Regions from separate parts of the Homo sapiens genome. Here region 2 is linked to region 1. The links are contacts of gene promoters, found by promoter capture Hi-C in human tissues and cell types (Jung and others, 2019). All regions are on one chromosome and are shown on one strand. Each heading gives the region's core, a stretch centred on a gene start or on the middle of the fragment in contact. The rest is flanking DNA. Distances are from core to core; before and after follow the strand shown. Region 1 holds the start of SYT6 (synaptotagmin 6). Region 2 overlaps LOC107985443 (a long non-coding RNA gene).

Region 1 (6,552 bases), core at 1-2,500:
ATACCCTGGGCCGGCCGCCACGTCGCCGACCCTCCCGCAGCTCCCGCCGCCAGGGCGCGACACGCCATTCCCCCTGCCGCGACTCCCCGGAGACGCCGCAGCTGCGCGCCAGGGTCCAGCCCGGCGGGGATCGGGCTCGGGACTCACCCGCTCCGGCGAGCTCGACTCAGCTCGGGCTCCCGCCTCGGCTAGGCAGCCGCCTGGGGCTGCGTCCCGCGCAGGGTCAGCGCGGATCGGGCAGGAGGCGCCCTCTTGGCAAAGTCGGCTAGAGGCGCCAGCTCAGTCGCGCACCGGCCCCGAGTCCGAGTCCGAGAGGGACGGAGGGAGCGAGTTATAGGGGCGAGAGGGGGTGGGGGAAGGACGCCGCAACACCCTCATACCCTCCCCCACCCCGCCCCCTGTCCCCCGCCCCCCAGCGGAGACGCGGAAAACCACTCGCAGCCGGAGAGACACCCGGACACAAAGACCTCGTGCCAGCCGCAGACCCAAGTTTCTCCCGGAGAGACTGGGGGTCCGCCCGCGTTCACCGCGAGAACACACAAACGGACGGACAGACCGACGCACGGACCCGGGGACCTCGACACTCGCTAGGAGGCAAGCCCTATTCCTCAGCCGGGCGCCCCTCGTCTCCCGCTCTCTCCATGGACCCCTCTCCTGGCAAATCGCCCGCAGAGCGAGCTTGGAGATGCGAGGGAAACTGAAGCCCCAAGGGTGCCCCGTCCTGGGAGCCTGGCTGTCTGCGGGGTCCCCCGCATTCCGCAGTAGTAATACAGGAGGGCCGGGGGCTTCTACCCCAACCTCCGCTCCCCTTCGGGTCTCTCCTGGCTGTGCAAGCGATGGGCCAGAGGGCTGGACGAGGCTGGCTCCCAATCCAGAATCCCGAGCTGGGGAGTTCTCTCTAGGTTCTGGGGCTCCTGGGACCGGGGCTTTGGGGAAGGGAGATCGCAGGACGGATATCCAGGAAGGGAGGGGGCCCTGGGTCTCCCGTTACCTGCGCCTGCCGCGCTGGGACTCCGCTCTGGGGGCTGCAGCTCGAAGCTCCGACAAGTCTCCACGTCCAGCCCGAGAGGGGGCGGCCGGGCCCGGCACAGCGAGGCGAGGACCGCGAGCGCCTCCTGGCACCGAGGCCCGCCGGCCCCCCACACTCCGCTCATGCCCTAGACACCCAGGCTTGCCGAGCAGCAGCTCGAACCCGCGCCCCGGCCGCACTGGGGCGGGGCACGACGGCCCCAAGAAGACCCTCCCTGCAGCGGCCCCCTGCGGCTCCGCTCTGCTTTTAATCACTTCCCCGCAGGGTCCCCGCCCCTCACGTGGCATCCCGCGGCAGCTGGCGAGTCTGGCGCCTCGCGGCCGCCCCCTCTACACTCAGGGACTGGCCTGAGTCCGGGGGGTGGGGGTTTCGAGGCGGGAAGCCGGGCTGTCCCGAATCTCGGAGGGTGCAAGGCCAGGAAAGAGTCCGGGTTCCCACTCCGCATTCACTGCCTGGTGTGACCTTGGGCGTCTCTGAGCCTCAATTTTCCTCTCCGTAAAGGAGGTGTAATGATTTTAAGTACTTCACGGACTCCCTGGGGATAGAAAGATCGTGTTTGTGAAAACACTGGGTAAACTGCCACATGCCACACGAATGACAGAGAAATAGATAACCCCGTAACAGAAAGAGCGACGGTCAGGCAGGGTCTGGGAGGACCTTGGCCGAGGTTCCTGACGGGAGCAGTTAGACTGGCCCCCGAGTCCCAGCTTCGGAGGTAGAAGACCCCAAGACAGGCGGGCGATGCGAACTGCAAGACTTTCCGAGCTCCGCAATCCTGCGGTCCGCGGTACCCGCATGTTGCTATGGCGACGGGAGGCAGCGGCCGTCTCTCTCCATGGCAACGGGAGGGAAAAGTTTCTGGCAAACAGGAATGGGGGGTCATTTCAAGAGGGCGCAGGGCGCTCAGTTCCGCCGACCCACCTCCTTGCTTCGGTGAAACAGCACCAGAGATCATGTATCTTTCTGCTAAGCATAACAAGAAAGACAGAAAGCTCAACGGGAGGATTGAGGCTAGACTTAAAGTAGAGATCCCCTCAGAAACTGTGGAGTGAGGCCCAGGAACAGATCGGCTGAGAGGCTTCGAGCTGCCTCACTCAGCGCTGGAAGTCTGTGAGCCATGGTCAGGGAGGCCGGGGGACCAGCGCCCTGCAGGGGCCTATCTCGGGAGTCTCTTGATCTACACCTGTCGGCGGTGGGGCCCCTTCTGTGTGGGGCTCGCCTGAAGCCCCAGACTCAGGTCCATTTGCTCTCCCGGAGCTGGGAAGGAAGCTTTAGCTGCAGCCCCTGGAGGCTGCTGGGTTGGTGTATGCCCGAGTGGCTGGCGAGGGAGAAAGGTCTTGCCTCTTAATTAACACGCTTATTGGAAGTGACTCGGGCAGTGACTCACGTTCCGGAGGGAGGAGATTCGGAGCCTTAGCTCCTGGCGGTCTCCACTGCGCGCCATCTGTGCCAACCGGCCCTTGGACTTGCGATCCCCTAGCAGCTGGTGCCTGGGGCACCAAGGGCTAAGGCAAGGCCTGTGAGGACCCTGGCCCAGCCAGGCGGCTTTTCCACCGTGAGGCGCCCCCTGGCTCTGTCCACGGTGCTGAAGACCCAGTTGGTGCTACCATCGCGTGGGCATAAGTTTAGGGGACGAGGGAGAGGCAATTGTTGAAGGTTCGCAGCTTCCACCCTGACCCCTGTGCCTGTGATAGCAGAAGGCTAGGAACTCAGGCAGGGACCAAGCAGACACGACGCAGGCGATACTGTGCAATCCGGGCTGCCTTCCTGCTGGAGGTGTTTGGTTGCTGTTCCAAGAACAAGTGGGGCTCTGGCATCCCTATGCGCCTTCCTGGTGCTTCTGAAAACCCACCTGAGGAGCCTAGAGGCCCCATTAATTTCTTTTCCATCACCCGATGCAGATCTCAGCACCCAGAAGAGCCTCTGGCTAAACGCTTATTAGCAGTTTCCCAAGTGGCAGGTTTGTGTTTATGTAAAATACAAATGGAGAACTGCTCTTTGCCCGTGTTTATGGCAACTCTGTCACTCCCCTGCTATTTCTCCCTCCCCCTCGCGAGTTCCTGGGGGAAATTCACAGAACAAAGCACCTTGTTTTGCCTTTGCAGAGAATGAAAAAACACAGGACCATTCCAAGGGCCCAGACCTGTGATGCAGGGAAATCAATATTTTGCTTACATCGAGTGGGGGAATTTGCATCTAAACTGAAGGCAAAGGAGCTTGTTTGGAGCAGAGCAGGTGGCAGGAGCCGAGAATTAACAGATAATTTCTCATTGTTCCTGGATTCAGCCTCCACACTCGGCAGGCGCTTCTGCAGCGTCTCTGGCGCCCCGGCAGCAGCTCCGGACCTGGCATTTCTCAATCTAGCAGTGTGAAGGAGCTGCTGCCCTGATAGGGCTGCAGAAACAGGTTAGGGCCCCTGGGTCAGTCAATAGCTATTGAAGTTGGATTGTAGGAGTTAGCGTGTGTGGGAGAGACAGAGATGAGAGAGACAGAGAGAAAGAAACAGAGACAGAAATAGAGGCAAGAGACAGATACAAATGAGAGAGACAGAGGATGAGACAGAGATACAGAGAGACAGTTATAGGAAATAGAGAACAGAGAAACAGACAGGGAGACAGATGTACAGGTAAAGAAACACACATTCAGAAGGAGACATTAAGGTAAAGCCTCACCCTAGTTGTCCTCTTTAGCCCGCTACCTCCCCCAGCCCCCAGGTCAATTGCTGATACCACTGTGGTCACATAACCAGCCACAAAGCAGAAAAATTCTTCATGTAATGATGGAAACTTTTTTGTCTCTCAAACCCCTTTGCCCTGCAAACCCAACCCCCAAACACACCTTTGCTTCTTCCCATATGAAGAGATAAAATTCAGAGTCCCAGGGTCCCACCAAGAGCTGGGAGGGAGGATCCAGGGTCCCACTCAAACCCAGAGAGGGAAAGAGGTGGAAAGAAGTGGAATTGTTGCCCTTCAATTCTATCTCTCAGAGAAATCCCATTCTGAGTTTGGGTTTAGGGGTGGGGAGGAGAGAAGCAGGAGCAGAGACAGTTAAGCATGGAGTGGTGGCAAATAAGTACATTGGACAGGGCCTGGGAGGGCTGGGATTCAGGGCTGGTGCACCAAAGCAGCCACGAGGCTGTCACATCCCCTATCTGGGGCTCAGTGTGCCTATGTGAAGTTGGATTAGGAGCTCTTTGAGGCTCCTTCCAGCAACAGCACTCTAGGATTTTACATGAGGGAGAAAAGAGGAGGCTGGGGCAAAGGGAGGAGGGAGGCAGCCTTTCCTGGCTCTGAAGCTGAGGGTGGTTTTACAGAGGCCAACTCACTTTCAGCTCCCCCTCCCCCATCGTTCTCATTGCGCCTACAGCCATGCATGGAGCATCCCGAGTCTGGGCACCTCCAGACCAGACTTCTCAGATGCAGGAAGAGGAGCTGGGGTGGAATGGGAGGCAGAATGAGAGGAGGTTTGAGACAGAAACAAGAGGCCTCCCACTCCTATGCCCTCCTCTCTTCGGAAATAGCCAATGTGCTCATCTCCTGCCCCCAACTTAAGTCTCTGCCCTTGGGCAGGCTCCCACTCTGCTCTGAGCAGCAATGTCTTGTTGAGTTATGTTGCAAATAAAATAAATTAAAACCAAATAATAATTTCTTTAAAAAAATTGAACCTTGGTAGGAAATTGCTAATGCTGTAGGCGGGAAGAATGAGCTCCTTTGACATGAGCCGATGTGTCATATTGTCTTTCCATCTCAATGCAATTTCTAAATAGGGAGCCCTTTCCCCATTCCCTCCTCCCTCCAAGTCCCCAGCAGAAATGTAAAGGGAGCAGTCTGACGATTGTAGCTGGATTGTCTGACGTGCAGGGAGAGACACAGAGGAATAGACACACAAGCACACCTACAGCTTTGCCACGTGGATAGAAGCTAAGGAGGCTCTGACCCAACCCTGAGGGCCCCTGGTCTCTTCTCCCCACCTCCCCCATCCTCTGCTTACTGAGGCATGTAGCCGCCTTCTGCAGAAGTGTTAATTTACTCAAAAAAACAAACATCAGTTGAACCTAGTCTACTGCAGAATCAAGTTGAGGTCCTGTATTTGAGGGTATAACTTCATATCATTATTTGGAATAAACTGTACTATGGATTCCCTATGGGGTTTCAGCCAGAACAGCTTTATCAGTATTTCCTGCAGATGACACTCTCTCCCCCAGCCCCCATACCAAGATAGCAAATCTAGCCAAAGCTGGGTGACTTCTGCAAATCATGCTGTCCCAAGCCATCATCAGAGTTTTCAGGGATTCCTCCTTACCTGAGAAGATGCAGAAGACGTTGCAGAGCTCAAGGTCAATGCCTAGGTGCTTTTTGAAAGCGTCCATTCTTGCTTTTATTCCAAGAAATATGCTTGGCAGTTCAAACATCCTGAACCAGGGTATATTTGCCTCTCTCCCATTCCTCCCCTATTTCAGCAGTCTCATCTCTGTTCTGTGCTCTCTGCTCAAGCACACAATATTCCACATCAGACTTGGGAAGACTGGACAATGTTTTCTGCATCCAGCCTGGCTTTGTGGACAAAAGCAGGCTGGAGTTCGGGGAAGCAGAGACAGGTTGAAGGTCAGAAGGCAGTATCATCCTTCAAACAACTTTAGAGCTAGGCCTAACCATGGTGGGTCGAGGTCTGTCTCCATTACTGAGAAGTGAAGATGATGTCAGAATGGAAGGGCTAGGAAGGGAGCCAAATAGTCCTCTTCTCACTGACCTTGTACAGAAGAAACAGCACGGCTTTGGAGTTGGACAGATCTGCGTTCAAATCCTGGGTCTGTTATTTACCAACTGGATTGCTTTAGGTGCTATACTTTAGCTCTCTGAACTTCAGCTTCCTCATTTGTAAAACGGGACATATAGGGCCTGCTTCACAGTGTACAAGGCAAGGATTACATGAGTTGGGTTAAATGGTGAAGGTACTGTGACTGATCCATGGCAAGTGTTAAATGATGGTTCCTGTCCCCTTTCTTCCTTTTTTCAGAATGTAGAGGAAAATTTAGCAGGTACACTATTCAGAGGTTAACCTGTATTCTTCCATGGGGCAAGTCTCTGCAAATTGTCCAGAAGGAATTTATCTCATGTAATTCTTACAAAAATACTGAGAGGCACAATGGGTGGATCCTAATCATCCATCTAGTAGATGAGGAGATTAAGTGACTGGTTCCTAGTCCACAAGGGAGGAGATGGCAGAGAACTGGAATTCAGGCCTTCAGACAGCAGATCAGCGCTCCTTCCTTCTTCACCATGCGGCAGAAAGATGGTGGGGATGTGAATACTTTTTCTTATTTTCTTACAAAAGGTTACAATATTTTAAAATTGCCTTTACAATAAATAAAAATTTAGAAATAAATTACAATGCAGTGAAAGATTTTTTCCTGTGCCTCTTTGCAATGCTCTTGGCTCTTTGACCTTAGCCATTTCAGTTGCCTCTTGGACCCAGTTACTGGTCTAGAGGAAAGATGGTGTCATTGATAAAATACGGGGTTG
Region 2 (6,552 bases), core at 2,303-4,802, 48 kb after region 1:
ATTATACAGATGAGAAAATGGAGGATCAGACTGGTTATATAACTCACCAAGGTTTACAAAACTAGGAAATCACAGAGCTTGGACTTGAAGCCACATTTGTCCAACACAAAAGTGCGTGTTTTAACCACAGCACTCTGCTAGCTCAACTGTCTCAGCATCCTCAAGAGCCCCATGACTCCAACTTTGAATACTTGGGCTTGTCATTTACGGTTCTCAAAATAACTGAAGTTGCAGGCAGCCTAACAATGCATTCGAGACCCCTGGCTCCTCAAAGGAGCTTGCCGATCTGCTCTGTTTCTCTTCTTCTGCCTCTCCCTAGTTGGAAGGAAGGAGCTAGGGAACCATAATCACGCCTCTCATTGCCTCTTCCAAGGCTAGATACACAGGTATGTGGAATAGGCTGAATGCCACCATTTAAGACAAATGTTCTCAACCACAGTGTGCTCACAATGGCATGGTGAATAATTTGTGAGGTGTGTTGCAAGTAACTTGTTTTGTTAATAGTTAAAATACTGGAGTTTGCAAATGATTTATCTTTTTATAAAAATAAGCAAGAGAAAATTCAAGGCTATCCCTATAACAACACACACTGTGTTCACTTGTATTCTTTTTTATACTTTTTTGAGTGGGAGAGAGAGGTAAAGTTAAAGCAAGCAGGCATTTGTCATTACCCTGGGCATAGCCATGGAAGATTTTCTTTCTTGTGTTCCCACATGGAAAAAGGGCTGAGTATTATTGATTTAAGGGAAGACTTCTGTTCACAAATACCTCCTCAATACCTACTTCCAATTCCACCAAGTAAAAAATACACTGGTTTTAAAAGCTAATGCTGGGTAGGCAGCGTGTTCAACAGTCACTCACATATTGTTGTGAATTATAGGATACCCTTGTTCAAGAATAAGATATTCTAGAAACCTCAAATGAATGGAGACATTTCTGAATACTTTCAGATAATAAAAGCTTCTGAAGGACTAAAAACACAGTCAAACTTTAAAGTGAAGCTTTAAATAGAGCTGAAAGCTTTTTGAGTTAATAGATAATTTTATGCAAAATAACTTTCATACTAGCAAGTAGATTCCTAAGTGAGTGACAGAGTAGGCAGCTGATTTTTTTTTTCCATTGTGGCAAAGTGGAGCTTTATCCTCAGTTCTTTTTACCTTCTGGATATTTTAATTGCACACCAAAATTCACTGCAGCATAGTTACAATAGCCAAGAGGTAGAAGCAACCCAAATGTCATCGATGGGAGAATAAAGAAATGTGGTATGTGTATACAAGGAAATACTACTCAACCTTGAAAAGGAAGGAAATTCTGACACACGCTCCAGTGTGAATGAACCTTGAGGACATTATACCAAGTGAAATAATCCAGCTATAGAAAGAAAAATACTATATGATTCAACTTATATGAGGTATTTCAAGTAGTCAAACTCTTAGGAACAGAAAGTAGAATGGTGGTTGCTAGAGGGTGGGACCGAGGGTGGTGAGGAAAGAGGAATTATTAGCATCATTCCATGATTGTAGAGTTTCAGTTTTGCAAGATGAAAAATCTCTACAGATTCACTGCACAACAGAAAATTGTTAAGATTGGAAATTTTATGTTATGCATTTTTTCCCACAAATTTCAAAAATGGAAAAAAAACAGAAAGGAAAGAAAAAAAAAAAGAAAGGACCAGAAAACTTGAGCTGAGTTATTGTCATTTAAGATGAAAGAAAAAAAAGGGAGGGAACACAGAGGCAGTAATTAGTCCCAGAACCTAATTCTAGGAATGTCCGGAAGTCAAAAGTTACTTGGTGGAATTTAAAGTGGTACTGAGGAGGTATTTGTGGGCAGAAACCCTCCCTTAAATCAATAATGCTCAAGCCTTTTTCCAGGTTGGACACACCAGAAAAAAAATCTCCCATGGCTATACCCAGTGTAATGACAAATGCCTGCTCTCTTAAACTTCACCTGTCTCTCTGCCCCACTCAAAACCCCTCTCACATAGAATAAATGGCAAAAGAAAAGTCTACATGGAGTAATTTCTTTCAAAAAAGGAACAGCAGAAGTAGGAAGAGGGGAGAGGAAGAGAAGAGGGAGTGAGCAGCAGCTGAAATTACAGTCTTAAAAAATGCTTATTTTCAATTATACACAAAAAAGAAAATAATGCAAAGATTTCATAGCCAACATTGTACTGCGTATAAAAATTGTGCCACAGTAGTCACAAAAGCTCTTCATGTTGCTGGCAGAGACAGAGAGCTTATGGCTTATTCAAACAAAATCTCACCAATCTCAATGGTGAGGGTTTTGGGTTTAATCAGATTGCTTTCCCCACACCTACCATAAGAAAATGGAAGGAAGATGAGATATAATTTGGAGGCATGGAATCTTATGAAGATAAACAGGCTAAAGCCAGGGGTCTTGGGTAGTCAAAGGGAAGTTCATGGAGATGAGAGTAAAAGAGATTGTTACTGGCAGACTAGAGGAAGTATGGGCAAGGCAGTGAAGACAAATTTTACCACTAGAAAAAAAAAATGCTGCAATTTCGTTCTGCCTTCTCCCTTCTTAGAATCAAAATAGCTTTTACTTAAATGTTATTAGTCCTTGCCTTCCTCCCACCCCAACTGCCATGGGCACTAGAGGGGTGAGACAAAGCAAAAATGAACCTGCATGGGGAGCTGGTTCAGTAGCAGCAATGGGGCTCCCAGGGATTGTCCAAGGCAAGCTGCAAGATACAAGGAGGAATGTGCTGGATTATTGATGCCATGAGGTACACAAAAAGACAACTTGGTGGAAACTCTGTCACACAGATTGCTACAAGAAAGCTAGCCTGGCTAGCAGCCATGCATAGTGTCACTTTAATGTGCAGCCCTTCTGACCTGGGAGAAGGCTGCCAGAGGCGGCATTCCCTAAGGGAGGCTGTGAGATTTGCCCTGCCCACTCTGGACACCGGGTTCCTGTCAGCAGTAGTTAGGTGGGACTCTTTTCCCAGTCAGATTCCATTTATGAAAATACTGAGAATTGTTCTTTAATTTAGACTTTAATAAAGATAAGACAAAGGTTAATTGAGAATGGCTGAGTCTCACATTACGTAATGAAGACTGCCTAAAATCTACTGTACTGTTAACTTGGAAAATTGCTGCTGAATTCTGATATTGACCTCCACGCCTTCCTAACTAAAGAATTGATGGGTGTGTTGATTTTATGTTACCCAAGTCTAGCTGACCTGTATCTTCCATTCTTTCTAATTCTTGGCTCATATTGGTCTGGGTTCATATGGATTTTTTTTGTATCAAGGATCTTGTTACTAATTGCAGAGAATTCTCAATCTCTACAACTGTAATTTATCAAAGTTCAGATTTTTAAATAACAAAGGCCACATCAATTGCTGTCTAGGGAGGTTGCCTCGTCCAAAGTGCTCTGCAAAATGCCTGCTGTCAGTTACTTATAACCCAAAAATGGCTCCTTTCTCTACTTGGAATGTGCTGATCTCCTCCATCATCAGCATCTGCTTGCCTCTGCTCAATTGCCTCTGCTGGTGGGCTGGGCTGGAAACTGGCTCCTTTTGGTAGCAAGAATTACTTCAGGAGTGAATCTCATCTTCTCGCTTTGGAAATCTAGAAATACATCCTAGAACTTCTGGCACAACCCCATTCAACATACACCTTTGGCCCTGGCAGGTTTTAGAGCTTTACTCTATAGGTATTTTATGTTTACAGATGATGACTAGAAAGAATTTGACTAGAAGACCACTATGTAAGGACACGAGTTTATACACTGTGCAAAGGTGCCCAGCCAAGGAGGCAAGTGGGGCTGAATTCCAGTCCTGCAGGAAGGAATGCCTTTTCTTTGCACAAAGGCAACAGCTCCCACCAACCCATGTGCTGGTGAAGCTGTGTCCACACAAGGAGTATCCTTTTTGAATTTACACACTCCATAGGCTGGCAGCAGCCTTCCCTGAAACAGATGCTGTGGGATGGGGAAATTGGTTTTTAAAGAGCTCAAAGAAAAGTTTACCAGGATCATTCATGGAGGAAAAGTCAGCATGATCATCCCCAAAGTGGAAGCCAACAGTGATCAATCAAAAGACCAAAGAGGGCCAGGCGTGATGGTTCACGCCTGTAATCCCAGCACTTTGGGAGACGGAGGCAGATGGATCATTTGAGGTCAGGAGTTCAAGACCAGACTGACCAACATGGTGAAACCCTGTCTCCCCTAAAATACAAAAATTTGCCAGGCGTGGTGATGGGCACCTGTAATCCCAACTCATTGGGAAGCTGAGGCAGGAGAATCGCTTGAACCCAGGAGGTGGAGGTTGCAGTGAGCCGAGATCGTACCACAACACTCCAGCATGGGTGACAGAGCGAGACTCCCTCTAAAAAAAAAAGACCAAAGAGAGGCTAGGCACGGTGGCTCACACCTGTAATCCCAGCACTTTGGGAGGCTGAGGCAGAAGGATTGCTTGAGTCCAGGAATTCAAGACCAGCCTGGGCGACATGGTGAGACCCTATCTCTACAAAAAATTAAAAAAAAAAACTAGCCAGGTGTGGTGCTGAGTGCCTGTGGTCCCAGCTACTTGGGAAGCTAAGGTGTGAGGATCACTTGAACCCAGGAGGCAGAGGTTGCAGTGAGTTGAGATCATGCCACTGCACTCCAGCCTGGGCAACAGAGTGAAACTGTCTCAAACAACAACAACAACAAACCCCAAAGACCAAAGATTAAGAATCTAAAGCTTTACTCTCTAGCTCCATTGGAAGATGCTTCGCTTTTCTTTTCTTCTCTGCCCCTGCATTATTTCTCAGAGAGAAAGAGCTGATTTTTCCATGTGAAATAGGGAGGAAGAGGGCTTAGATGATACAGCACATACCACAGAACACAGGAGCCAGTTCAAAGATGCATGAGCTGCCATAATACCACAAACACACCACTTATCCCATGGAGTAACTCCAAGGACTGATCACATTCAGCCACAGTGAGGGTAGCCAGGGGGCTAAATGCACTAGCCCAACATGCATCAAAAGGGCAGCTTTGTTCATTGTGCCAGCACCTGCCCTCAGATACTGCTTCTTCCGGCTTCCCTTTCATTCTCTCATCTCTTGCGCTTTCTTTCTTGCTGCTCATATCCTATGTTCTGGAATTCTCGCTGCCTCCCAGACACTGTGGTTCACTTTGATTGATGCTCTTTGTTCTCTGTGTAAGTAGAGAACTGCCGAACAGAATAATATAGTCTTCAGCCAACTCTATCTTTCCTTTTGTTCCTACCTTGCCTGCTCAGGCACAGCAGTCGATGTGGGAACAAATGTTTTTGAGCACCTACTCTGTGATGCATGATTCTAGGCACTGGGAACACAGTGGTGATCAAACCAGTCAAAAATCCCTGCTGGAGGGGATGAGGTGAGGGAGGGATAGACAATAAACAAAATAAGTAAATTGGCCGGGTGCAATGGCTCACATCTATAATCCCAGCACTTTGGGAGGCAGAGGCAGGCAGATTGCTTGAGCCCAGATGTTTGAGGCCCACCTGGGCAACCAGATGAAACTTCATCTCTACAAAAAATATAAAAATCAGCTGGCTCAAACAAATTAACAAGAAAAAAAAAATCCCTTCAAAAAATGGGCTAAGGACATGAATAGACAATTCTCAAAAGAAGATACACAAATGGCCAACAAACATGAAAAAATGCCCATCATCACTAATGATCAGGGAAATGCAAGTCAAAACCACAATGTGATATCACCTTACATCTGCAAGAATGGCCATAATAAAAAAAAATAGATGTTGGTGGGGATGTGGTGAAAAGGGAACACTATTACACTGCTGGTGGGAATGTCAACTAGTACAACTATGGAAAACAGTGTGAAGTTTCCTTAAAGAAGTAAAAGTAGAACTATCATTTCATCCAGCATCCACTACTGGGTATCTACCTAGTGGAAAAGAAGTCATTATACAAAAAAGATACTTGCACACGCATGTTTATAGCAGCACAATTCGCAATTGCAAAAATATGAAACCAGCCCAAACGCCCTTCAATCAATGAGTGGATAAGAAATTGTGGTATGGCCTGGCGCGGTGGCTCACACCTGTAATCCCAGCACTTTGGGAGGCCAAGGCGGGCGGATCATGAGGTCAGGAGTTCGAGACCAGCCTGGCCAACGTGGTGAAACCCTGTCTCTACTAAAAATACAAAAATTACCTGTGTGTAGTGGCACACGCCTGTAATCCCAGCTACTCAGGAGGCTGAGGCAGGAGAATCGTTTGAACCTGGGAGGCAGAGGTTGAAGTGAGCCGAGATCACGCCATTGCACTCCAGCCTGGGAGACAGGGTGAGACTCCGTCTCAAAAAAAAAAAAGAAATTGTGATGTGTGTGTGTGTGTGTGTGTGTGTGTGTACATATATATATAGTATTCCGTGGCGTGTGTGTGTGTATGTGTGTATATATATATAAATATATATGTAATTATATATTATATATTATATATAATTATATAAATATATATGTGATTATATAATTATATAATATATAGTTATATAAATATATATAATTATATATTTACATATATAATTATATAAA

The links. The method cuts DNA at HindIII sites, captures the fragments that hold promoters and counts their contacts. A contact is called where the count stands out against the background at its distance.
Region 2: a fragment that was not itself captured here is called in contact with the fragment with the promoter of SYT6 in region 1 in 1 of the 25 tissues and cell types used here (psoas muscle).

Annotation. Positions count from the first base shown.
Region 1 is chr1:114,152,619-114,159,170 of GRCh38, forward strand. SYT6 (synaptotagmin 6) reads right to left here and starts at 1,251. Exons shown (of 8, transcript NM_001253772.2): 1 at 992-1,251. The coding sequence starts at 1,154. RefSeq lists an enhancer at 2,426-3,039 and a silencer at 3,969-4,263. The HindIII fragment of the contact is 10,069 bases long and covers 1-6,552 here.
Region 2 is chr1:114,198,799-114,205,350 of GRCh38, forward strand. LOC107985443 (a long non-coding RNA gene) reads right to left here. Exons shown (of 3, transcript XR_001737803.1): 3 at 6,255-6,291. Among named protein-coding and RNA genes, the nearest start is that of SYT6, 48 kb to the left of the region's middle. The HindIII fragment of the contact is 5,144 bases long and covers 981-6,124 here.